Regions from separate parts of the Homo sapiens genome. Here regions 1, 2, 4, 5, 6 and 7 are each linked to region 3. Evidence: promoter capture Hi-C in 16 types of primary human blood cells and fetal thymus (Javierre and others, 2016). All regions are on one chromosome and are shown on one strand. The core of a region is centred on a gene start or on the middle of the fragment in contact, and the rest is flanking DNA. Distances in the headings are between cores, read along the strand shown. Region 1 has its middle 11 kb from the start of PRDX4. Region 2 overlaps PDK3 (pyruvate dehydrogenase kinase 3). Region 3 holds the start of ZFX-AS1 (ZFX antisense RNA 1). Region 4 overlaps ACOT9 (acyl-CoA thioesterase 9). Region 5 overlaps PDK3 (pyruvate dehydrogenase kinase 3). Region 6 overlaps ACOT9 (acyl-CoA thioesterase 9). Region 7 overlaps PRDX4 (peroxiredoxin 4).

Region 1 (2,954 bases), core at 383-2,882, 490 kb before region 3:
CATATCTCAGCAAGGGAGGATAAGCCTCTCAGTCCTCCTGTGATTAGCAATGTGGTCATGGCCAGACTGGCTTGGAACATAGGGTGGATCATAGATGATGGGGTGATCTTCACCCCTTGTCCTCCAGCACAACTGACAGGACTCCCTCATCTGCTAACCAAGGAGCCCAACACATATTGCCTCACTGGGCATTTGCCCATCCTCAATATCACTTCTTTCCTACTGACTGTAGGAGCGGACCTCAGTACATTTCTGTATAATAGACTGTCCCTGCCACCACTTTATCAATGAGGTCTGCTACTGCTCCTCAAGTCCTGTTCCATACTTGTCCAATCAACCTGTGGGATCTCACTTGTATTTTTTCCAAAAGGGCACTATGACCTTATCAGCCTCCAGGAAAAGGGAATTAAAAATATGATGGAACCAATCTGTGAAAAACCAGGTGTGGCAGAGCCCCATGTAGTTTTCCCTCTTTTACTTTAAAATAAACAGGCCAACTTTTGCAGCCATTTTGTAGCAATAACTGTTCTCTCAGGAACACAGAATACTTTATTTGGTGAAAGACAATAGTTGTTCTTTGACTACAAATGGGATTCAGTGAGGGAAACCACTTACATTATTTCAAGTATCATAACTGGTAGGTAAGCCCCGGATTTTGTTGGGGATCTTAAGTTTCCCTTGCTGGTGTGCATCCGAGGCCATAGGGTTGACACCTTCAGTTTGCCAGTTGAGAGATTATAACACAGTGAAAGCATTAGGCATAAGAGGAATTTTTCAGGCCGGGCACGGTGGCTCACGCCTGTAATCCCACCACTTTGGAAGGACGAGGTGGGTGGATCACAAGGTCAAGAGTTTGAGAACAGTCTGGCCAACATGGTGAAATCCTGTCTCTACTAAAAATACAAAAATTAGCTGGGCATGGTGGTGCATGCCTATATTCCCAGCTACACGGGATGCTGAGGCAGGAGAGTTGCTTGAACCCAGGAGGCAGAGGTTGCAGTGAGCCAAGATCACGTCACCGCACTCCAGCCTGGGTGACAGAGCAATACTCCATCTCAAAAAAATAAATAATAATAATTTTTCACCGATAAGATTTGAGCATTCACAATTCAACATATAACACATTTCAAAATTAATTACACATTAGTAAACAGTGCATACAATGAATCAGCTCACAGGCCTCTCAATGATAAGATCACTTTTAACTTTTTTATCTTTTCGCTACAAGTTCTACCAGCTGCATTCAGACAATTTTTATAGAAACAAAGACTATAAATAATTTTTACACAGACACTACAATACCGGCTTCCAGGAGACCATCTACTCTCCTTGGCTGGAAGCCCAGAAAATAAAGAGGTGCGAGACACACCACGAGAACAACTGGCACCAGTAAGCACGAGTTTGTACTTGCTTTCAGCCATCCTCTGGGGTTACAAAAAAGGTACCTTTAACAATAATTAGGCACCAATTAAACAGATGATTTCAATCTTACCTCTTGCTGCCTAACCTTCCAAACTTTTTCAACAGGTGACATACACTATTGGACCCCAAAGAAACTATCTTATCTTCCCCCTAACTTGGCCCACACACAGCAGGCCCATTTACCCCTACCTTGGCCCACTGTTGGACAGTGGGAGGACCCCTACACTCCCACTCACCCATCGTGTAGACAAGGATTCCAGGGAGCCTTGATCTCTCCTAATCCACCCTATCTGTGTTACACAGTCATAAGAATCTCATCTCATTCAATGGCTTGACCACAGTAAGTCCAGTGCCATGGATCCCTGGTGCCTTATCCATCCTAACATGGAATTTACAATCTCCTAGTGGAGGAACTTTATTGCCCCTCTTGCCTACCACTTAGGTGAGAAGATGTGTCTTAGAAACCAACCTAACTAGTGTGCTGTCTTGTCTAATAAAAGGGCCAACTTTTTCAGCCACACATTCCAGACCAGATATGTCATCTCATGCACAGAGACATGCAAGGCCAAGGACAAGGCCCAAATTATTATTCCACTAAAAACTCTAAAAACACACTTTTACAGCCGGCTGCAGTGGCTCACGCCTGTAATCCCAGTACTTTGGGAGGCCAAGGCGGGTGAATCACTTGAGGTCAGGAGTTTAAGACCAGCCTGGACAACATGGTAAAACCCCATCTCTACTAAAAATACAAAAACTAGCCAGGTGTAGTGGCACACATCTGTAGTCCCAACTACTTGGGAGGCTGAGGCAGGAGGATCACCTGAGCCTGGGAGGTGGAGATTGCAGTGAACAACGATTGTGCCACTGCACTCCAGTCTGGGTGACAGATCGAGACCCTGTCTCAAAAAAAAAAAAAAAAAAAGAGTGGTGGTCAAGGGGAGAGGAGATGAAGACAGGAAAGGCAAAAAGAGTTACTATATCCTCACGCCTGTAATCCCAGCACTTTGGGAGGCCGAGGCAGACAGATCACGAGGTCAGGAGATCGAGACTACGGTGAAACCCCGTCTCTACCAAAAATACAAAAATAAGCCGGGCGTGGTGGCGGGCGCCTGTAGTCCCAGCTACTCAGGAGGCTGAGGCAGGAGAATGGCTTTAACCCGGGAGGCGGAGCTTGCAGTGAGCCAAGATCGCGCCACTGCACTCCAGCCTGGGCGACAGAGTGAGACTCCATCTCAAAAAAAAAAAAAAAAAAAAAAAAAAAAAGAGTTACTATATCCATCCTGTTACATATATATACACATCACTGACAGGATGACAAAACCCATGAATGCTCCAGTTAAGAGTTCATGGAAATGGGCTGGGTGCAGTGGCTCACTCCTATAATCCCAGCACTTTGGGAAGCCAAGGTGAGAGGATAGCTTGAGGCCAAAAGTTCAAGACCAGCCTGAGCAACATAGTGACACCTTGCCTCTACAAAAAAATAAAAATAAAAATAAAAAAATTACTAAATATAAATAAATAAAAATAGAGTA
Region 2 (3,343 bases), core at 671-3,170, 350 kb after region 3:
GTGCTGAGAAATTTCTAAGTATAAACTAGTCCACATAGTTATGAGACTGAACACCTGACTTAATAGATGTTCCATAAGAAGAACTAGGGAAACACCATGTTATACAAGCAACCTTAGGAGGTATTTAACCCAGTCCTCTCAATCCACAGATAAGGAAACTGAGTTCAGAGATGTGAAGTGACTTGCCCAAGATTGTGACCGTTCATAGCAAAGCTGGACCTATAAGCTATGTTTACGTCTGAGCCATGAGTAGCTAGTTCTAGTCTAGTTGTAAACTAAAATTCAAAGGAAAAACAAAAGCCCTCACCTATTTTATACTTTGTTGGGTGTTTGTCTGATGGATCTGTGAAGTGTGGAAGGCAGGGAAGCATTGGGTTAGAGCCCCAGATGTAGCGTTTTCCTTGATATAAGCCACTGCTGTCATTTAAGCGATTATTAAATGAATTCAATCCAGGAGCTTTGTTTTCTCAAAAGTCATTAGCTGGTAACCGTTTGGCAGAAATCCTAAAACCTAGGGCTGACCACTGTAGCTCCAAATTTTAGAACAAATTTGTAGAAGTATAGTTGGTCCTTTGTACTGGCAGTTTCCACATCCTTGGATTCAACCAGCCACAGATTGAAAAGATATTCAGGAAAAAAAAAAGCAATAAAAAATAACAATGCAACAATAAGAAATAATACAAAATTTTAAAATACAGTCTATCAACTGTTTACATAGCATTTACATTGTATCAGGTATTATAACTAGTCTAGAGATGATTTAAAGTATCCGAGAGGATGTGAGTAGGCTGTATGCACTATTTTAGATAAGGGACTTGAGCATCTGAGGATTTGGGTATCTGCGGGGATCCTGGAACCAGTCCCCTGCGGATACTGAGAGACGACTATACACGATGTTAAATTTCTGCTGTGTTTTTCCCGGAGTCCCGTCTCAGTTTCTGGAACAGGTTATCCGATGTGATTTATGGCCACGAGCCTGCTTTGCAAACTGTCAGTGCTGAATCCAGTGTGTGCTTGACGATAGCAATAATAGCTGAGCTCTCACTCCGTGAGTTTTGTAGCTTGCCTAGGTTCATGTGGTTAGTTATGATAGTTGGCATTTGAGAAGGCTGATGTTCTTGGTGAAGGAAGGAGTGAAAGGTGAGCGAGTATCATGGTAGCAGCCTTTTCTGTTTACCAAGAGGTTGTATGGGATCACCAGCAGGGAAATCATTTTAGTAAAGCAAAAGTAGCTTAGAGGACAAGCTTGTTGATCATTTATGATAGAGTTTAGAAGAGCCCGGAAGATTGGAGGAGAATTCTGAGCATTGAGCCATTGAGGTAAGTCTCCCCACTTCAGATAAGTTGAGGCACTTCTCTACTATAATGAATCGTTTCACTTTAGTAATATTTAACTTACAAATACATTGCAACGAGTATTACATAAAGGACAAATTGTCTATTATAAAATTTTTTGTGAATGACGATGGCCTAATTTCAGAGTTTTACATCTTTATTGTCATTGTACGTATGTATTTGTTACAGAAATATTTCGTCAAATATTTCATCAAATATTTCAGAAAAATAAGACTATTGAGATAAGTAAAAAGAAAGTCACCCCAAATTTCTACTACCAGGGGACAACCACTATTACTATTTTCCTTTCTTCCGTGCTTTTCCCTAGGCATGCATATATTTATATGCGTAAAATATTTTTACAAACATAACAAGTGTCAACATTATAGATCTACACCATTATTAATAGTTTCATAATATTCATGTTAATAGTCCATCTTCAGATAGTTCATGCAATTTGATCTTCTATCACTGGATTTTAGACTGGTTTGTAGTTTTCATGCTACTATAAACAATGCTTTAAAGAACAGCTTTTAAATACATCTGTTGGCCGGGCATGGTGGCCGACGCCTGTAATCCCAGCACTTTGGGAGGCCAAGGCGGGCGGATCACCTGAGGCCAGGAGTTCGAGACCAGCCTGGGCAACATGGTGAAACCCTGTCTCTACTAAAAATATGAAAATTAGCCAGGCGTGGTGGTGGGCACCTGTAATCCCAGGTACTTTGGGAGGCTGCAGGAGAATTGCCTAAACGCGGGAGGCAGAGGTTGCAGTGAGTCAAGATTGTGCCACTGCACTCTAGCCTGGGCAACAGAGCAAGACTCTGTCTCATAAATAAATAAACAAACAAACAAACAGCTGTTCACCTTTTCCAGTTATTTTCCTAGGATCAATTCCTCCAAGTGGAATTATTTTCTTTGGGCTTTTGCTGTATGTTGCTGATTGTCCTGAGAAGTGCCTCAGTTAAGCCCCAAACTCTAGCTGATGCTGATACGTGGAGAATAATAAGTATCACATTGTTTTGATTTGCTTTTCTTATTTGTAAGGGTGACGTTATTGGCATTTGTGCTTCTTCTTTGGTAAATTTTGCATTGATAGCAGATCCTTTGCCTAGTTTTCTGATGGGGTGCTAGTTTTTTCCTTTTTTTAAGTTTTTTGTTTTTTTTCTACTTCATTTATTAATGTGTGTCCCTATAGGATTGCTAAAATTCTACATAGTCATATCATTTGTTTCTTCACATTATTTGTTTCTACCTTTGATATTAAGCTTAGAACAGCCCTCCTTATCCCAAGATTATGTACTTATTCACCTGATTTTTCTGTTATCATTTCTGTGATTTCACCCTTTTACATTTTTAATCCAGTATTTGGTTTTAAGTCTTGAAATTAGGATGTGACTGAAATTGTTAGCCCGCTGTTCCAGTTAACTTGATTATTAGTTTGATTGTTTACCTACTGATTTGCAATGTCACTTTCTCAATATGCTCGATTTTTATATATACATACTCACTCATGGGCCTGGTCCTAAACTTTTTATTTAGTTCCATTGACTGACTTGTCTTATACCATTCTTAATGTATTTTCCCATATGCATATTTACAATAAGATGCCAGATACTTGAATAGTTTAATTTCCTGTGTTCTGTCTGCATTTCATCACTGTATTTTACTGCTGCGAGATATTTATTTCCAAATTTTACTCTTAAACTGTATGAGACACTTTAGGAGGCTGAGGTGGGCGGATCACGAGGTCAGGAGTTCAAGACCAGCCTGGCCAATATGGTGAAATCCTGTCTCTACTAAAAATACAAAAATTAGCCAGGCGTGGTGGCGTACACCTGTAGTCTCAGCTACTCGGGAGGCTGAGGCAGAAGAATTGCTTGAACCCGCGAGGTGGAGGTTGCAGTGAGCCGAGATCACACCACTGCACTCCAGCCTGGGTGACAGAGTGAGACTCCGTCAAAAGAACAAACAAACAAAACCCAAAAAACAGTGTGACATTATTTCTTTA
Region 3 (3,380 bases), core at 713-3,212:
CATACCGTAGCATCACACTGAGGCCCTTGGAAAGTACTTAAACGCTGATTATCAATGTTTTGAAATATTAATGTGGGCGGCCGGGCACGGTGGCTCACGCCTGTAATCCCAGCACTTTGGGAGGCCGAGGCGGGTGGATTACCTGAGGTCAGGAGTTGGAGACCAGCCTGGCCAACATGGTGAAACCCCATCTCTACTAAAAAAATAGAAAAATTAGCCAGGCGTGGTGGCAAGTGCCTGTAATCCCAGCTACTCGGGAGGCTGAGGCAGGAGAATCGCTTGAACCCCGAAGGCAGAGGTTCAGTGAGCCAAGATCACGCCATTGCACTCCAGTCTGGGAGTGCAAGAAATATTAATGTGGGCACACAAGCTATTTCTCATTTTTTTTTATTGAAACAACATTGCTTAGTTTCATTTACCTTTCTGTGAAATGTCTTTCTGTGAAAGTCTATCACAGCCTGATGTAATTTTTATAAACAATGAATACATGCTGTTACTATTTTTGAAAGGAAATTTAATCGCTTGGAAAAATTCAGACTAAAGCCCCGAGAGGAAAATTATCATCCAGTGCATGCTCAGAGATTTCTTCTTACTCTACTTTTGTTTTTCCTTTTTGAAAGCATTTGTGATTGAGAGATGTCTGAGGGAAGGGACAAATTGCATTCTGGGAGTTTTAAAGAGTTATGTCAGGCAACTAAAATACGTGGCCTCTGTATTTAAAGAGATTTCACACCAGTATACTATTTGCTTTATAATTTTTGTGTTTCTTATTGTTTAAAAATGCCTTTAACATTTAGTGCTGTGTTAAAGGATAGCATGCCAGATTCCAGATTAATGTAAAGACTCCACTATTTAACTTTTCCCTAGTAACTTTAAAACAGAGTTTGGGTTCCAAGTTCAGCATGGAAAGATAGCATAAACATTTAAACTAAGTAAAGTGCGAAATACACATTTTTGAAGTTGGTAAGTGCTGTTTAATCATTTTCCCCTTCTCTCCCAAGTCTTTTGAAACTTCAAAAGGCTTGTTTAAGCAGTGTGTTTAAAAAAAAAAAAATCCATACCCAATTGGGCTCCTCTCTATTAAGGAATGTGGAAAATTCATGATTTATGAAACGATGACACCAGTCTTACATTTCACAGGCTCCCAAGCTCTGAAACACGGGTACATAGGAAAATACACAGAAAATTCCTGTTCTTTGCAACGTGCGAAACGTTTCAAAATGCAACTTTGCTCATCTCCCTCCCCCGTACAAACTAATAAAATCAGTTTGGCTCTGACTGCTTATTTTTAAAAAGTAGACGGCCTGGTAGGTGCTCTAGGGATAACCCTTCTCCCCCCACTCCACCCCCCTTCCCGCACACCCATTTAGACTGGCAAGCCCGTTTTCATTTTATTTCAAAGATTTTTTTTTTTTAAGCGAAGGCAGGGGACGGCGGGGGTTGCTAAATTTATCTTCCTCCCCAGCCACGGGGATGAAGAAAACACATTTACTGCGGGCGGGGGTCTGAGGGCCTGCAAACAACTCGAGCTGGAGCCTCGGCCAGGACCGGCGCGAGAGGCGGTAGGTCTCCAGGGAGGCCCCCGGGGGGCGGCCGCGGCCCACGGGACATGGTGGGGGGCGGCCGGGCCGCCTGCCTCTCCGCGGGGTCGGCCGACCGCGGCCCCGCGCGGGCTTTACGGCCGAGGCGGCGGCGGCAGCGGCGCGTGTGTGGCGGCGGCGGGCGGGAGCGCGGAGGAGGTGGAAAGAAGGGGGGCGCTGTCACGGAGACTCCGGCCGCCGGAGACCCCGCCGCAGCGAGGCCACTGGGCTCCCCGGTCGCGGGGCGGGAGCGGCGCCGACACGGGGTGCCAGGAGGACCCACCGGGCGGAGGAGGGGGCCTGTCTACCCTTCCGCATTTTCCTGGGTCTCTCTCCCGGGCGGTGACGTGACGTGCTGACGGCGGGCCCGTGCCGGGGAGCTGGGCCGCTTTTTGTCAGCTCCGAGCTCGGCCCCTCCTCCCTCCCTCCGCCCGCCCCACCAGCCGGAGCCCGGCCCAGTGCTCCAGAGAAAGGCCGGCCTGCAGCACCCGCCACCGTCGCCGGCCGCCCGCACGTCCGTCCGGTGAGTCCCGGGTGCCGCCGCGGCCGCGGGGCCTAGTGCGCGCACAGCGGCCTGGTCTCGGCCTGGTCGGCGGCCCGCAAGGCGCCCTCCCGCGCTAGGCCGGGCGGCGTGGCGCGCGGCGCCGAGCAGGCCCCGAGGAGGCCGCAGTTAGGCCCGGGGAGGAGCCCGGCTGCCCCGAGCGGCGGCGGAGGCGCGCTCCGTAAGCGGGCGGGGGTTGGGGGAGGGTCGCCCGGTTGTGCCGGAGGCGGTCGAGGGGCCCCGGGTCGGCTCCGCGGCCGACCTGGGGCACCGCGCCGGGGTGAGGCCTGGCGAGGAGGCGAAGGCTGCAGGCGTGAGGTGAAGGCCGCAGGCCGGCCGGGCCGATTTTCGCTATGTAAATATCGGTGAGGGGGGGGGAGGGACGGGGGACAAGATGGCGGCGGCTCGGCGCCTGCTGCAGGGGACGATAGAGGGGGTTGCCGGGAGGGGGAGCCGCCATCTTGGAGGCGGTGTCTGGAGAGAAAATTCCGCTACAGCCCGTGAGGGGGGGTGGGAGAGCGGGCGGCGGCGGCAGCGGCGCCGGTGACGGGCCCCGGAGGCCCGGCGCGGCGGCGTGTGCGCGCGGAGGGGCGTGCTCGCTCCCCGTGGCGGCCATTGCCCTTGCCGCCATGATGAGCGCTCGGGCTCCAGGCGCTCGGCGGCAGCGCCACCTTCCTGCCTTGCCTCCCGCAGCCCCGTGACTGGCTGCAGTTTCCGCTGCGTTTCAGCTGAGCTGCCGCAGGCGGCCACCGCCGCCGCCCGGACGCCGGGACCGTTTCACCCTCAGCGCCCCTGGCCCTGCGCCTTCCCCCGCGCCTGTAGCCACCCGAGGGCAGTCGGGGCAGGTGGCATTCCGGACACCTGGGCTTACCAGGGCATACGGGACCCCAGGAAATGTTATTTTTGCTTAAGTCAAATCATATGTGGCTGCTAAGGTGCTTTCGATGCAGTTGTTTTTCCAACAATCTTTGCCGCCCCGAGTATCTGAATAAAGGAAGAAAAATAAAGATTGATGGGAAAGTTTTTGCCATTCTTTTGTCCTATAGGGAAAAAAATTGCACAACACGAGAGCGGAGGAATAAAATTTTGAATCATTCGTACTCATTTATGTGGAAACAACTTTCTTGAAAAACGATTTAAGTAGTGATCTGTTGGTGGTATTTTTTTAAATCGAGGAATAAGGGCAGACTTTTTTATTTTCTTATTGGAGGACAACTTAGTGTGGTGCATATTTATTGTGCATTTGCCTGTCATGGTAT
Region 4 (3,336 bases), core at 351-2,850, 420 kb before region 3:
TTGTCCTAATTAATCATGAAACAATTATTTCACTCAGTTATCCCTCCTTCCCCATAACACCCTTGACTCCTATACCACCCTGTGGTTATCTGTATACTTTCCATATTTTAACAAGCATTTATATGTGCCATGCATGGTTCATGCACCTTACAGATATCAACTCATTTAAAGTCGTATAATTATACGTTGGGCCGGGCGCGGCGGCTCAGCCTGTAATCCCAGCACTTTGGGAGGCCAAGGCAGGCGGATCACGAGGTCGAGAGATCGAGACCATCCTGGCTGACATGGTGAAACCCCATGTCTACTAAAAATACAAAAATTAGCCGGGCGTGGTGGCGTCCCAGTTACTCAGGAGGCTGAGGCAGGAGAATCAATTGAACCCAGGAGGCAGAGGTTGCAGTGAGCCGAGATCGTACCACTGCACTCCAGCCTGGCAACAGAGCAAGACTGTCTCAAAAAAAAAAAAAAAAAAAAAAAAGTTGTATGATTATATGTTGATTGGCTCCCTGCTTCCCCCATGATCCATTCAAATTTGTATCACAAACTCTCAGACAAGATATGTGGCTCAATAAATACTTGTTGAGTAAGTGTAAATCCTTCCATCTATGCACCTGCTAAAGGACACACTGGGGGAATGATAGGCTAAAGGCAATAAACTCCATTTAAAAGTCTTTGTCCAGCAAAGAAATCAGATGGCTCCAACCTATGGCAACAGGAGTAGAAATGAAAAGACTATGAGTTAAGAAGAAGGTAAACCTGAGAAGACTTGAATAAATTCAGTTTTCTAGCTTGCATAGGTAAGCGTGGTGTACTAGTCACTGAAAAAGAGAAGAGAGACTGGGCACAGTGGCTCATGCCTGTAATCCCAACACTTTTAGAGGCGAAGGCAGGAAGATCACTTGAGCCTAGGAGTTCAAGACCAGCCCAGGCAACACAGCAGAGACTCCATCTCTACCAAAAACACAAAAGTTAGCCAGGTGTGGTGGCACATGCCTGTAGTCCCAGCTACTCGGGAGATAGGTAGGAGGATTGCTTGAACCCAGGAGGTCAAGACTGTAGTTAGCCATGATCATGCCGCTACACTCCAGCCTGAACAACAGAGTAAGACTCTGTCTCAAAATAAAAAGAGAATATAGGAAGAAAAGAATGGGCCATTTTCAATGCGTTGAATTTGAAGAGCCTATGGCACATCCAAATGAAGGTATTGGGGAGGGCACAGTTGTTCACACCTGTAATCCTAGGGCTTTGCAAGGCCATAGCAGGAGGATCACGTGAGCCCAGAGCTTGAGACTAGCCTGGGCAACAGAGTGAGACCCCTGTCTCTACAAAAAACTTTAAAAATTAGGCCAGGCATGGTGGATCAAGCCTGTAATCCCAGCACTTTGGAAGACAGAGGCAGATGGATCACTTGAGCCCAGGAGTTCCAGACCAGCCCAGGCAACATGGTGAGATCCCGTCTCTACAGTAAAATACAAAAATTAGCCAGGCATGGTGGCGTGTGCCTGTGGTCCCAGCTACTTGAGAGGCTAAGATGGGAGGATGCTTGAGCCCGAGATGTCGAGGATACAGTGAGTGGTGATCGCACCACTGGACTCCACCCTGGGTGACAGAGCAAGACCCTATTCCAAAAAAACAAAACAAATTAGCCAGGCATGGTGCAGTGTGCCTATAGTCCCAGCTACTCAGGAGGCTGAGGCAGAAGGAACACTTGAGCCCGCAAGTTTAAGGTTGCAGTAGGCTATGATTTTACCACTGCACTACAGCCCGGGCAACAGAGTGAGACTGTCTCTAAAAAAGAAAAATAAATCTAGTAGCTAAGAGGAAAAATTGATTGAAACTCAGAAAAGCAGGCCAGAAAATGTAGCTTTGTAAGTATTCAGCATACTGATAGCAACTGAAACACTGGGAGTAGATGAGTTTATAGAGAATCTGCAACGTCAACCCAAAAAAGGGCAGAAGGGAAGGGTAGAGAAGAGACGGAGGAAAATGTAATATAAATGTAGTTTTTACCACTGATCAGTACACTTAAAAATGATAAAGATGAGCCAGGCGCGGTGGCTCACACCTGTAATCCCAGCACTTTGGGAGGCCGAGGTGGGGGGATCACCTGAAGTCACGAGTTTGAGACCAGCCTGACCAACATGGCAAAACCCCATCTCTACTAAAGATACAAAAATTAGCTGGGCGTTGTGGTAGATGCCTGTAATCCCAGCTACGTCGAAAGCTGAGGCAGGAGAACTGCTCGAACTCGAGAGGCAGAGGTTACAGTGAGCCGAGATGGTGCCACTGCACTCCAGTCTAGGTGACAGAGTGAGACTCTGTCTCAAAAAAAAAAAAAAAAAAAGATAAAGATGGTAAATTTTATATTTTAACCTCAACTGAAAAAATAGGGCTGGGCGCAGTGGCTCACACCTGTAATCCCAACACTTTGGGAGGCCGAGGTGGGGGGATCCCTTGAGTCCAGCAGTTTGGGACCAGCCTGGGCAACATGGCAGACCTTGTCTCTACTAAAAATCAAAAAAATTAGCTGGGCATGGTGGTGTGCACCCGTAGTCCCAGCTACTCAGGAGGCTAAGGCAGGAGGACTGCTTGAGCCAGGAGGTCAAGGCTACAGTGAGCTGTGATCACGCCACTGCACTCCAGCCTGGGTGACAGAGTGAGACCCTGTCTCAAAAACTAAATAAATAATTTTAAAAGATTTAACAATTTTATTGTTAAATTTTAAAATGCCTTAAAATTTAATTAATATGAACAAATTATAAAATTCAAAAGGCCGGGCGCAGTGGCTCACGTCTGTAATCCCAGCACTTTGGGAGGCCGAGGCGAGTGGATCACCTGAGGTCAGAAGTTCGAGACCAGCCCGGCCAACATGGTGAAACCCCGTCTCTACTAAAGATACAAAAAATTAGCCGGGCGTGGTGGTGTGTGCCTGTTATCCCAGCTACATGGGAGGCTGAGGCAGGAGAATCCCTTGAACCCGGGAGATGGAGGATGCAGTGAGCTGAGATAGCGCCATTGCACTCCAGCCTGGGCAACAAGAGCGAAACTACAGCTCAAAAAAAATAAATAAACAAAATAAAATAAAATAAATTCAAAAAATAATCAGTTTTTGAAAGGGCAGAAGACAAAACCCTGGGGATAACCTACATTTAAGGGATCAACAGAAAAAGAGGAACCTACAAAGGGGACTACAAAAGAGCAGCCAGAGAAGCAGAAGGAAATGTCACCAAAGCCCAAGGATGGGCTGGACGATATAAGAAGCCACAAAGGGGTCAGGTCAGCCCTGAAAAGTATCCATTCAACTGTGCAGTAAAGGGGCCAATGGCGAGCTTGGCA
Region 5 (2,992 bases), core at 97-2,596, 330 kb after region 3:
TATTTGTAATAGACTCTTCTGGGAGGAAGCTGCTTGTCTCAGGGAGTCTCCTGTTCTCTAGAAATTGCCCTTCATGGCCAGGGTACTGCTTCTTTTGTTAGAGCTCCTTACATATTCTCTACCGTGTTATCTCTGGCCTACATACTCCTATTCCTGTTTCTTTGACCTGAGCTTGACTTCAGTGAAGCTATTGGAGAAGGAAATTAAAATGGACTCTTGGCTGGGCACAGTGACTCACACCTATAATCCCAACACTTTGGGAGGCCGAGGCAGGCAGATCACCTGAGATCAGCAGTTTGAGACCAGTCTGGCAAACATGGTGAAACCCCATCTCTAATAAAATACAAAAAAAAATTAGCCAGGCGGTGGCACGTGCCTGTAATCCCAGCAACTTAGGAGGCTGAGGCAGGAGAATCGCTTGAACCAGGGAGGCAGAGGTTGCAGTGAACCGAGGTCGCGCCACTGCACTCCAGCTTGGGCGATGGAGTGAGACTCCGTCTCAAAAAAAACAAACAAAAAAAAAAGGACTTTATATGGCACCTGAAAAAGATTCAATAGATTCGACTAGCACTTACTGAGTACTTACCAACTAAAACAGGATATCATCTAATTCTCACAACAGCCATGCCCATTTTACCAATTAGGAAACTGAAGTTCTGAGCGGGTAAGAAGATGACTCACACGTATAATAGGTAGTAGAGCCACATGTCTGCCCGCCTGATCGTCTTACCACCTCTTTATAGCAGAGAAAGTAGGTGAGGGATTGGGCGCAGTGTGTGAGCAAAACAAACTGGAGGAAAGGACCATCGAGTGCATTGTCACCGCCTCCCAAGCATTACCACATCCTGAAGCACAGCCGTTTCCTTCTCGAGTTTGTTTAGTTTTTATCTTCCCCATTTAAGATCATCTGAAAGTGAAAGGGAAAAAAAGAGCTGACACTGAAAAGTCTCTTACAGAGTACAAAGATGTTTGTGATCAGTTTCCCAAGAGGCTGAAATAAAACTCAAAGGTGAAAATAAAGACAACAGTACATGGGTAAATAAAAAATTGGGGATGCTTAATAGCCATTGTCTGGGCTTGAGGAGTTCTTTGATTTGTTTACCCTCATTGAATTTTCTATGATTAGATGCTAGTCCATGGTTCTCAGTCCTGGCTGCTCATGAGAATTGTCTGGGGAGCGCCTGAAATGAGTGACACCTGCTCCCTACATAAACCAATTAAATCAATTGCTGCGGGTAGGAGTCTAGGTGCTGGTGCTTTTGGGTTACCCAGGCGATTGTGTAATAATATTCTTCCAGAGTTAAAACCACAGTGTTAGAGCTGGTGAAATTTTTGCCCAAGAGCTATGAACCACTTTAGGGGATAGAGTCTGTGAGTGAGATGCCAAAGGTTAACACCGAAGTCATTCTGGAGTCCATCAGCATTAGTTGAAAGTTCTGGATTTGGAATGAAATGGAAACTAAGAAGCATTGGGAAATTGCCAAGGCATATTCATTGCCTTTGAGGAGCTCATAGATAAATGAGAAGCTGGGACAAATACATAAATTTACGTATGCTAGTCAGAAGGATGAATCATATAATTTTGTGGTATCTTTTTGCTGCTGTCCCTACCTCGCCCTTAAAGGTTTTTGAAATAAGGGTGGTTTCTGGGAACAGGTAAGGTGTTAACCCAATTGTCCTTTATCCAAAATGTTGTTGGAGGCTTTCTGGATGGAGATCACAAAGAGAAGAACAAAATGTAAATGTGCATACTCTTTTTCTTTTTCTTTTTTTTTTTTTTGACAAAGTCTTGCTCTGTCGCCCAGGCTGGAGTGGAGTGGCGCGATCTTGGCTCACTGCAAGCTCCGCCTTCCGGGTTCACGCCATTCTCCTGCCTCAGCCTCCCCAGTAGCTGGGACTGCAGGCGCCCGCCACTGCACGCGGCTAATTTTTTGTATTTTTAGTAGAGACAGGGTTTCACCGTGGTCTCGATCTCCTGACCTCGTGATCTGCCCGCCTCGGCCTCCCAAAGTGCTGGGATTACAGGCGTGAGCCACCGCGCCTGGCCCCTTTTTCTTGACTTCCACCTTTTTTCCTTGGCTGTTTACTCCTAGCACTGCTCTCCAGAGTTTTCTTAGAATTTATATTAGTAGGCAAGGTTAGTGTATGATAAATAACTGTATAGAGAGACAAACAAAAATCTTATCCTCTTAGACTAATTCAGTGGGAACTTGAGCTTAGAGACTGATGTGGTTTGGCTCTGTGTCTCCACCCAAATCTCATGTTGAGTTATGATTTTCAGTGTTGGTGGTGGGGCCTGGTGGGAGGTGATTGGATCATGGGGGCAGATTTCCCCCTTGCTGTTCTCATGATAGCGAGTGAGTTCTCATGAGATCTGGTTGTTTAAAAGTGTGTAGCACTTCTCCCTTTGCTCTCTCTCTCTCCTGCCACCATGTGAAGATGTGCTTGCTTCCCCTTCGCCTCTGCCATGATTGTAAGTTTCCTGAGGCCTCCCTATCCATGTGGACTGTGAGTCAATTAAACCTCTTTCCTTCATAAGTTACTCAGTCTCAGGTAGTTCTTTCTAGCCACATGAGAACAAACTAATACAGAGATCATCTGTAATCTTCCCAATTTTACACATGAGAAAGTAGAAGCCCCAAGTAAGGAAGAGACTATGCCAGTCATCAGCTAGTTTTTGGTATAACATCTTGGCCACCTCTTCCAAAGGGAACCAGAAATTATTCTTTTTATGAGGCCAAGGGAACTTACATTTGTGTGCCACTCTCTGCTAAACACAATAGTGGTTAGCTGTAATTCTCACAGCGTCCACATTAAGTGTTTCCATTTCTTGGATGAAGAGTCTAAAGCTTAGATAGTTTAAGTCTCTTACCTAAGCAAAGTTAGGGGCAAAGCCATGGTTAAAATTCAGGTAGAGTGAGGTTTGTTTGTTTGTTTATTTTTTGGAGACAGAGTGTTCCTCTGTCGTCCAGGCTGGAGTGCGTGGTGTGAT
Region 6 (2,938 bases), core at 45-2,544, 450 kb before region 3:
CTTTTATATCTGTATTGGTAGAGGACAGATTTGGGGTGAAGATTCTGGTATCCAAAATTACGTGAGCAATTTAACAAAAAGACAACAAAAACAATAAGCAATTTAATTTCAATCTCAGTAGAATTCAGAGAAAGGCAATTAACAAATGTCAGTTTTCTTTTTTTGGGGGGGTGGGGGGGGACAGGGTTTCACTTGTTGCCCAGGCTGGAGTGCAGTGGCGTGATCTTGGCTTACTACAGCCTCAAACTCCTGGACTCAAGCAATGCTCCCAGTTCAGCCTCCTGGGTAGCTGGGACTACAGGTGTGCACCATCACTCTGAGAGGAGTTAGCTAGCTTTCCTTAGGTAGACAGCAAGGGAAGGGTCCCCAAAGAGCCCCCAACCCACGGGTCAGTGCCTCATCCCCACAGAACAGAGAAAGCAGCCTGGGGATAAAAATCAAGCTGCAGGCACCGATAAGGGAAGTAGCACAGGGTGGTGGTGTGCCTGGAGACAAGCCCGCGGCTGCACAGATCCGAGAACCTCCAGCCCACTTAGATAAAAACTTGCACAAACCTCCAGCTCACTCAGATAAGGGAACAAGACCTGACATAGAAATGTCTTTGTCTTTTGTATAATCAGCAGGTTCCCGGGAAAAAGTTTCTTCTCCTTTCGTGGGCATTAATACTGTGGGCTCCGACGACTCCGATGGGCACTTTCCTTTCCTCTTTCGACTGTGAGCCCGGCCTCTAAGAATTACTTCAGCACGATTGGTCCCCGGGCCAAGCTTTCACTTCAGCTCCTGATAGGTCCCGGGCCAAGCTGAGTGGTCTCAATGAATCATCAATTCAGCTCCTGATTGGTCCCGGGCCAAGCTGAATCTAGCTTTCTCCAAGACAGCTCACAGACTAAGCAAATTCCTTCCCCTTCCCAGTCCGCAAAAACCCCCGACCCCAACCTCATAGTGGGCAACCCGTTCAGGCCCCCACTCTCCGCTGCGGAGAGCTTTTTTTTTTTTTTTTGAGACGGAATTTTGCTCTTGTTGCCCAGGCTGAAGTGCAACGGCGCGATCCTCAACTCACCGCAACGTCTGCCTCCCGGCTTCAAGCGATTCTCCTGCCTCAGCCTCCCAAGTAGCTGGGACTACAGGCGTGTGCCACCACGCCCAGTTAATTTTGTATTTTTAGTAAAGACAGGGTTTCTCCATGTTGGTCAGGCTGGTCTTGAACTCCGGACCTCGGCCTCCCAAAGTGCTGGGATTACAGGTGTGAGCCACCGAATCCAGCCGAGAGCTTTCTTGTTTTGCTTACTAAACTTTTGCTCCAACCTCACCCTTGTGTTCGTGCTCTGTGACACAAAGAACTCCGGATACTATCTCAGACAACCAAAGACTGCTACATTTTGGCGCACTGGTGAGACTACAACACCTTGCTAATTTTTGTATTTTTGTAGAAACAGGTTTTCACCGTGTTGCCCAGGCTGGTCTTGAACTCCTGACCTCAAGCAATCTGCCTTGGCCTCCCAAAGTGCTGGGATTACAGGTGTGAGCCACCACATCCAGCAGAAGGTCATTCTTCACCTATCAAAATGGCAAAGATATTTTAAAAAGAAAAGATAAAAATTGGCAAAGTTCAGGGAAATTGCTGATGTGTAAGTGATTGTGTGAAACTGTTCTGAAGGGTTACATGAAATACATATTCAAAGCCTTCAACGTGTGCCTACTATTTGACCTAAATATCTCATTTAATATTTTTCCAAAGAAAATAATTTAAGGGTCAAATGTTTTAGAGTATTTAGGATATTTACTGCAACATTGTTTATAATAGCAAAAAAGAAATACTAGAAAAAGCTTCACTGTACAGCAACAAATGGTTAAATATATAATGTATAATCTATACAATAGCATGCAGTAGGTCTCTTAACTCCACTTAACACATTCACAAAACTCCCCAGGGCGCATCCCTCCCCATTAGCCACCTCCCATCATGTCATAGGTAGATATGCAAAATGCTATATTGAAGGGCCAGGTAAATCTCAGTCAGGATGGCATTACGGCATGGAGAGACAAGTTATTATAGTACAGCACATGCTTGATTCCATGAGTCAAACTGCATGCTTCCAAGAGATAGTTGTGTTCGCTCCTGTGACTATTTCATGCCAGAGGTGCTTGTTGACACTGTGATTTCAATAAACATTACATAAACTAATATAAAAAAATTGCTTGAGACAGGGTCTTGCTGTCACCCAGACTGGAGTGCAGTGGCATGATCATAGCTCACTGCAGACTCAAACTCCTGGACTCAAGCAATCCACTCACCTCAGCCTCCTAACTGGGACTACAGGTGCACACCACCATGCTCAGATAATTTTTTAACTTTTTGTAGAGAAAGGGTCTCACTATGTTTCCCAGGCTGGTCTCAAGCGATCCTCCCATCTCAGTCTCCCAAAGTGCTGGGATTACAGGCATGAGCCACCACTGTGCCTGGCCTAAAAATTTTTTGTTAAAAATGCTTTCCACCGGCCGGGTGCAGTGGCTCATGCCTATAATCCCAGCACTTTGGGAGGCCAAGGTAGGTGGATCACCTGAGGTCAGGAATTTGAGACCAGCTGGCCAACATGGTGAAACCGCCTTTCTACTAAAAATACAAAAACTAGCCAGGCATGGGGGCTGACACCTGTAATCCTAGCTACTCAGGAGGCTGAGGCAGGAGAATCGCTTGAACCCGGGAGGTAGAGGTTGCAGTGAGCCAAGATCATGCCACTGCACTCCAGCTGGAGCGACAGAGTGAAACTCTGTCTCACACACACACACACACACAAAAATACTTTCCACCTAATTCTGAGGCAGAGCCAAGTTTGTGAACACTAATGTAGAACCCACAATAAATATTGCTTCCTTCTTGGGAGGACTTTTTTCAGAGATTATTTTTTCTTCTAAGTTACCTTCCTGTCAAAAAAGG
Region 7 (3,210 bases), core at 1-2,500, 470 kb before region 3:
GTTAAATGCAATAGATGTGATTTCTATAGCGAAAACCACTGAATTATATGCTTATGATAAATTGGGTTACCATAATCTGGAGGAAAAAAATCTTTAAAATATGCCATTTCTCTGTTACACAGTTATATAGTCAAACTCAGCTTTTACAATTTTGAAGAAACAATACTTTTTAAAAATGAATTTTAAAAAATGTTTAAAAATTCATTAATCATAAAAAGATGTTTTACCTAAATTCGTTATAAAGAATTGCAAATTAAAATGACGAGATGCCAATTTTCCCTGTCTGGTTGGCCAAGATTTAAAAGATTGAAAAAATGTATCCACTGTGGACAAAAATTGAAGAAACGGCACTCACACACAGCTGTTTAGCATTTCTGGAGAGCAGTTGGGCAACATGTCTCAAAATTGGAAATTTACATGTTAATATGAGTTTTTATAGTGTCCACAGTCTTGTGCAGAAAACTTTGTGCACAATAAAGACCATTCAGAATTGGGCTGGGCACAGTGGCTCATGCCTCTAATCCCAGCACTTTGGGAGGCCGAGGCAGGCAGATCACCTGAGGTCGGGAGTTCGAGACCAGCCTGACCAACATGGAGAAACCCCGTCTCTACTAAAAATACAAAATTAGCCAGGCGTGGTAGCAGGTGCCTGTAATCCCAGCAACTCAGGAGGCTGAGGCAGGAGAATCACTTGAACCCAGGAGGTGGAGGTTGCAGTGAGCCGAGGTCACGCCATTGCACTCCAGCCTGGGCAACTGGGCAATGAGAGTGAAACTCCATCTCAAAAAAAAAAAAAAAAAAAAAAAAAAAAAAAGATTCAGAACTATTGGTTTTAAAACATAATATTCAATTTATTAAAGTTACAAATTTGAAACACAAGCTTTTCTCATTTATAATCTGTGTGTGTATAACAAATTTTCATTGCTTGGTGAGCTACAATTTAATTAATTACATTTCCCTAAGAAATTAATTCCCATAAGTATTTTTAAATGCAGTTATATATTTAATATATTTGAATTCCTTAAGTATCTCAATTTTCAGACAAACCTTCCCAAATACTTAAGTAGTTCTAATATGCCAAATTCTCTTAAACATTATAAATAACTTAACATATAAATATGTACTGATTATTTCTTAATGTAAAAATATTAAAATAGCCTGGCATGGTGGCTCACGCCTATAATCCCAGCACTTTGGGAGGTCAAAGCAGGAGAATCATTTCAACCCAGGAGTTCAAGACCAGCCTGGGCAACATAGTGAGACCCCATCTATACAAAAAATAAAAAAAATTAGCCAGGTCTGGTGGTGCATGCCTGTGGTCCCAGCTACTCGGGAGCCTGAGATGGAAGGATGACCTGAGCCTAGGTGGTCGAGGCTGTAGTGAGCCAAGATCATACCACTGCACTTCAGCCTGGGCAATAGAGTGAGATCCTGTCTCAAAAAAAAAAAAAAAATTAAAATATAGGCTTAATTTGCTTCATCATTTCCTTTAAAAAAAGAAAGACAGGGTCTTACTATGTTGCCCAGGCTGGAGTGCAGTGGCACAATCAATCATAGCTCCCTGCAGCCTTGAACTCCTGGGCTCCAACAATCCTTCTACCTCCCCAAATAGTTGGGACTGCAAGCTTGCACCACCATACCTATTTTAATTTTTATTTTTGTAGAGATGGAGTCTTGCCATGTTGCCCGGGCTGTGCTTCATCACTTCTGTAGTAATTATAAATCTTCCGAGGATTAAAATGCATATCCACTAAGGAAAAAGTTATGGCATCCCAAATAATTTGGGATTGCTTTCCCAAGGAAATTTGGGGATACATTCTCAGCCTGATAGGGTTCACATCAACCAGAAATTTCTACTTGGGTGTCAGAACTGGGGCTCCAGATATCTAGAGCAATGTCGTTTTGTTTTCTATCTGCTGTGTCAGTACCCTCCTGTTAGAGCATCAGCCCATGTCTCCTGGTTTCAAGTTACAGAATACAGATTGAGCGTCCCTAACCTGAAATCCACAGTGTTCCAAAATTCAAAATTTGAGTGCTGACATGATGCTCAAAGGAAATGCTTAGTGAAGCATTTCAGAGTTCAGATTAGGGATGTTCAACCAGTAAGTATGCAGATATACCAAAATCGGAAAAAATCCTAAATCCAAAACACTTCTGGTCCCAAGCACTTCCGATAAGGGATACTCAACCTGTAGTGAAGACTGAGGCATCTGATATTATAACTCACTTCCTTCACTGCTTCAAGTGGACTTTGCATTTGTCTCTCAGAATATTAAAATGTCATCCATTTGTATCCTGCCTGTCTGTTCAAGGCTTTATCTTATGATCACACTACTAAGGTTATGCTTTTGATACTACGTATCTTTTGATCTATCAGTTTCACTTTCAGAAATCAATTAGACAAGTGTATAAAAGTAAGAATACAAGGATGTTTTCAGCAGTGTTTATAAAGCAAAAAAAAAAGGTAAATGGTTTAAATCTTCATCATGGAATTAAGTAAAATACAGTAAAGATGTTCCTGACTTACGATGGTTTGACGTATAATTTTTCAACTTTACAGTGGGTTTATGGGATAGTAAATACATTTTTAGCTAATGATATTTTCAATTTATGATGTGTTTATCAAGACACAGCCCCAGCCGGGCACAGTGGCCTGTAATCCCAGCACTTTGGGAGGCCAAGGTGGGCGGATCACCTGAGGTCAAGTGTTTGAGACCAGCCTGGCCAACGTGGCGAAACCCCATCTCTATTAAAAATACGAAAAATAGCTGGGCGTGGTGGCGGGTGCCTGTAATCCCAGCTACTTACAAGGTTGAGGCAGCAGAATCACTTGAACCTGGGAGGCAGAGGTTGCAGTAAGCCAAGATCGTGCCATTGCACTCCAGCCTGGGTGACAGAGCAAGACTCCATCTCAAAAAAAAAAAAGAAAGAAAGAAACAACCCCATCTTAAGTCAAGGAGTATCTGTGTATCCATACATTAAAAATGTGTTATAGGCCAGGCGCGGTGGCTCACGCCTGTAATCCCAGTACTTTGGGAGGCCAAGCCGGGTGGATCACCTGAGGTCAGGAGTTCGAGACCAGCCTGGCCAACATGGTAAATCCCTGACTCTACTAAAAATGCAAAAATCAGCCAGGTGTGGTGGCACATGCCTGTAATCCCAGCTACTTGGGAAGCTGAGGCAGGAGAATCGCTTGAACCTGGGAGGCAG

What was found. The method cuts DNA at HindIII sites, captures the fragments that hold promoters and counts their contacts. A CHiCAGO score of 5 or more calls a contact.
Region 1: a contact is called between a fragment that was not itself captured here and the fragment with the promoter of ZFX-AS1 in region 3, in 2 of 17 cell types (total B cells and non-activated CD4 T cells). The highest score is 6.1, in total B cells.
Region 2: a contact is called between a fragment that was not itself captured here and the fragment with the promoter of ZFX-AS1 in region 3, in 1 of 17 cell types (total CD4 T cells). The highest score is 5.0, in total CD4 T cells.
Region 4: a contact is called between a fragment that was not itself captured here and the fragment with the promoter of ZFX-AS1 in region 3, in 5 of 17 cell types (total B cells, total CD8 T cells, naive CD8 T cells and 2 more). The highest score is 7.8, in total B cells.
Region 5: a contact is called between a fragment that was not itself captured here and the fragment with the promoter of ZFX-AS1 in region 3, in 9 of 17 cell types (fetal thymus, total CD4 T cells, activated CD4 T cells and 6 more). The highest score is 9.9, in fetal thymus.
Region 6: a fragment that was not itself captured here is called in contact with the fragment with the promoter of ZFX-AS1 in region 3 in 9 of 17 cell types (naive B cells, total B cells, total CD8 T cells and 6 more); the score reaches 8.8 in naive B cells.
Region 7: a fragment that was not itself captured here is called in contact with the fragment with the promoter of ZFX-AS1 in region 3 in 10 of 17 cell types (naive CD4 T cells, naive B cells, non-activated CD4 T cells and 7 more); the score reaches 10.6 in naive CD4 T cells.

Annotation. Positions count from the first base shown.
Region 1 is chrX:23,654,944-23,657,897 of GRCh38, forward strand. No RefSeq gene overlaps it. Among named protein-coding and RNA genes, the nearest start is that of PRDX4, 11 kb to the right of the region's middle. The HindIII fragment of the contact is 6,235 bases long and covers 1-2,954 here.
Region 2 is chrX:24,499,549-24,502,891 of GRCh38, forward strand. All of the region lies in intron 3 of PDK3 (pyruvate dehydrogenase kinase 3), which reads left to right. Among named protein-coding and RNA genes, the nearest start is that of PDK3, 36 kb to the left of the region's middle. The HindIII fragment of the contact is 1,355 bases long and covers 1,244-2,598 here.
Region 3 is chrX:24,147,692-24,151,071 of GRCh38, forward strand. It overlaps ZFX-AS1 (ZFX antisense RNA 1), which reads right to left and starts at 1,963. Exons shown (of 3, transcript NR_046657.1): 1 at 1,864-1,963; 2 at 1,062-1,151. ZFX (zinc finger protein X-linked) reads left to right here and starts at 2,038. Exons shown (of 10, transcript NM_003410.4): 1 at 2,038-2,103. RefSeq lists enhancers at 1,375-1,474, 1,681-2,494 and silencers at 1,585-1,944, 2,005-2,414, 2,435-2,484, 2,535-3,044. The HindIII fragment of the contact is 5,789 bases long and covers 1-3,380 here.
Region 4 is chrX:23,723,146-23,726,481 of GRCh38, forward strand. All of the region lies in intron 6 of ACOT9 (acyl-CoA thioesterase 9), which reads right to left. Among named protein-coding and RNA genes, the nearest start is that of ACOT9, 18 kb to the right of the region's middle. The HindIII fragment of the contact is 5,864 bases long and covers 1-3,336 here.
Region 5 is chrX:24,479,284-24,482,275 of GRCh38, forward strand. All of the region lies in intron 1 of PDK3 (pyruvate dehydrogenase kinase 3), which reads left to right. Among named protein-coding and RNA genes, the nearest start is that of PDK3, 15 kb to the left of the region's middle. The HindIII fragment of the contact is 3,002 bases long and covers 1-2,847 here.
Region 6 is chrX:23,699,295-23,702,232 of GRCh38, forward strand. It overlaps ACOT9 (acyl-CoA thioesterase 9), which reads right to left. Exons shown (of 16, transcript NM_001037171.2): 16 at 1,761-2,938. Among named protein-coding and RNA genes, the nearest start is that of PRDX4, 33 kb to the left of the region's middle. The HindIII fragment of the contact is 1,062 bases long and covers 764-1,825 here.
Region 7 is chrX:23,675,354-23,678,563 of GRCh38, forward strand. The region is part of intron 3 of PRDX4 (peroxiredoxin 4); the gene reads left to right. Among named protein-coding and RNA genes, the nearest start is that of PRDX4, 9.5 kb to the left of the region's middle. The HindIII fragment of the contact is 745 bases long and covers 879-1,623 here.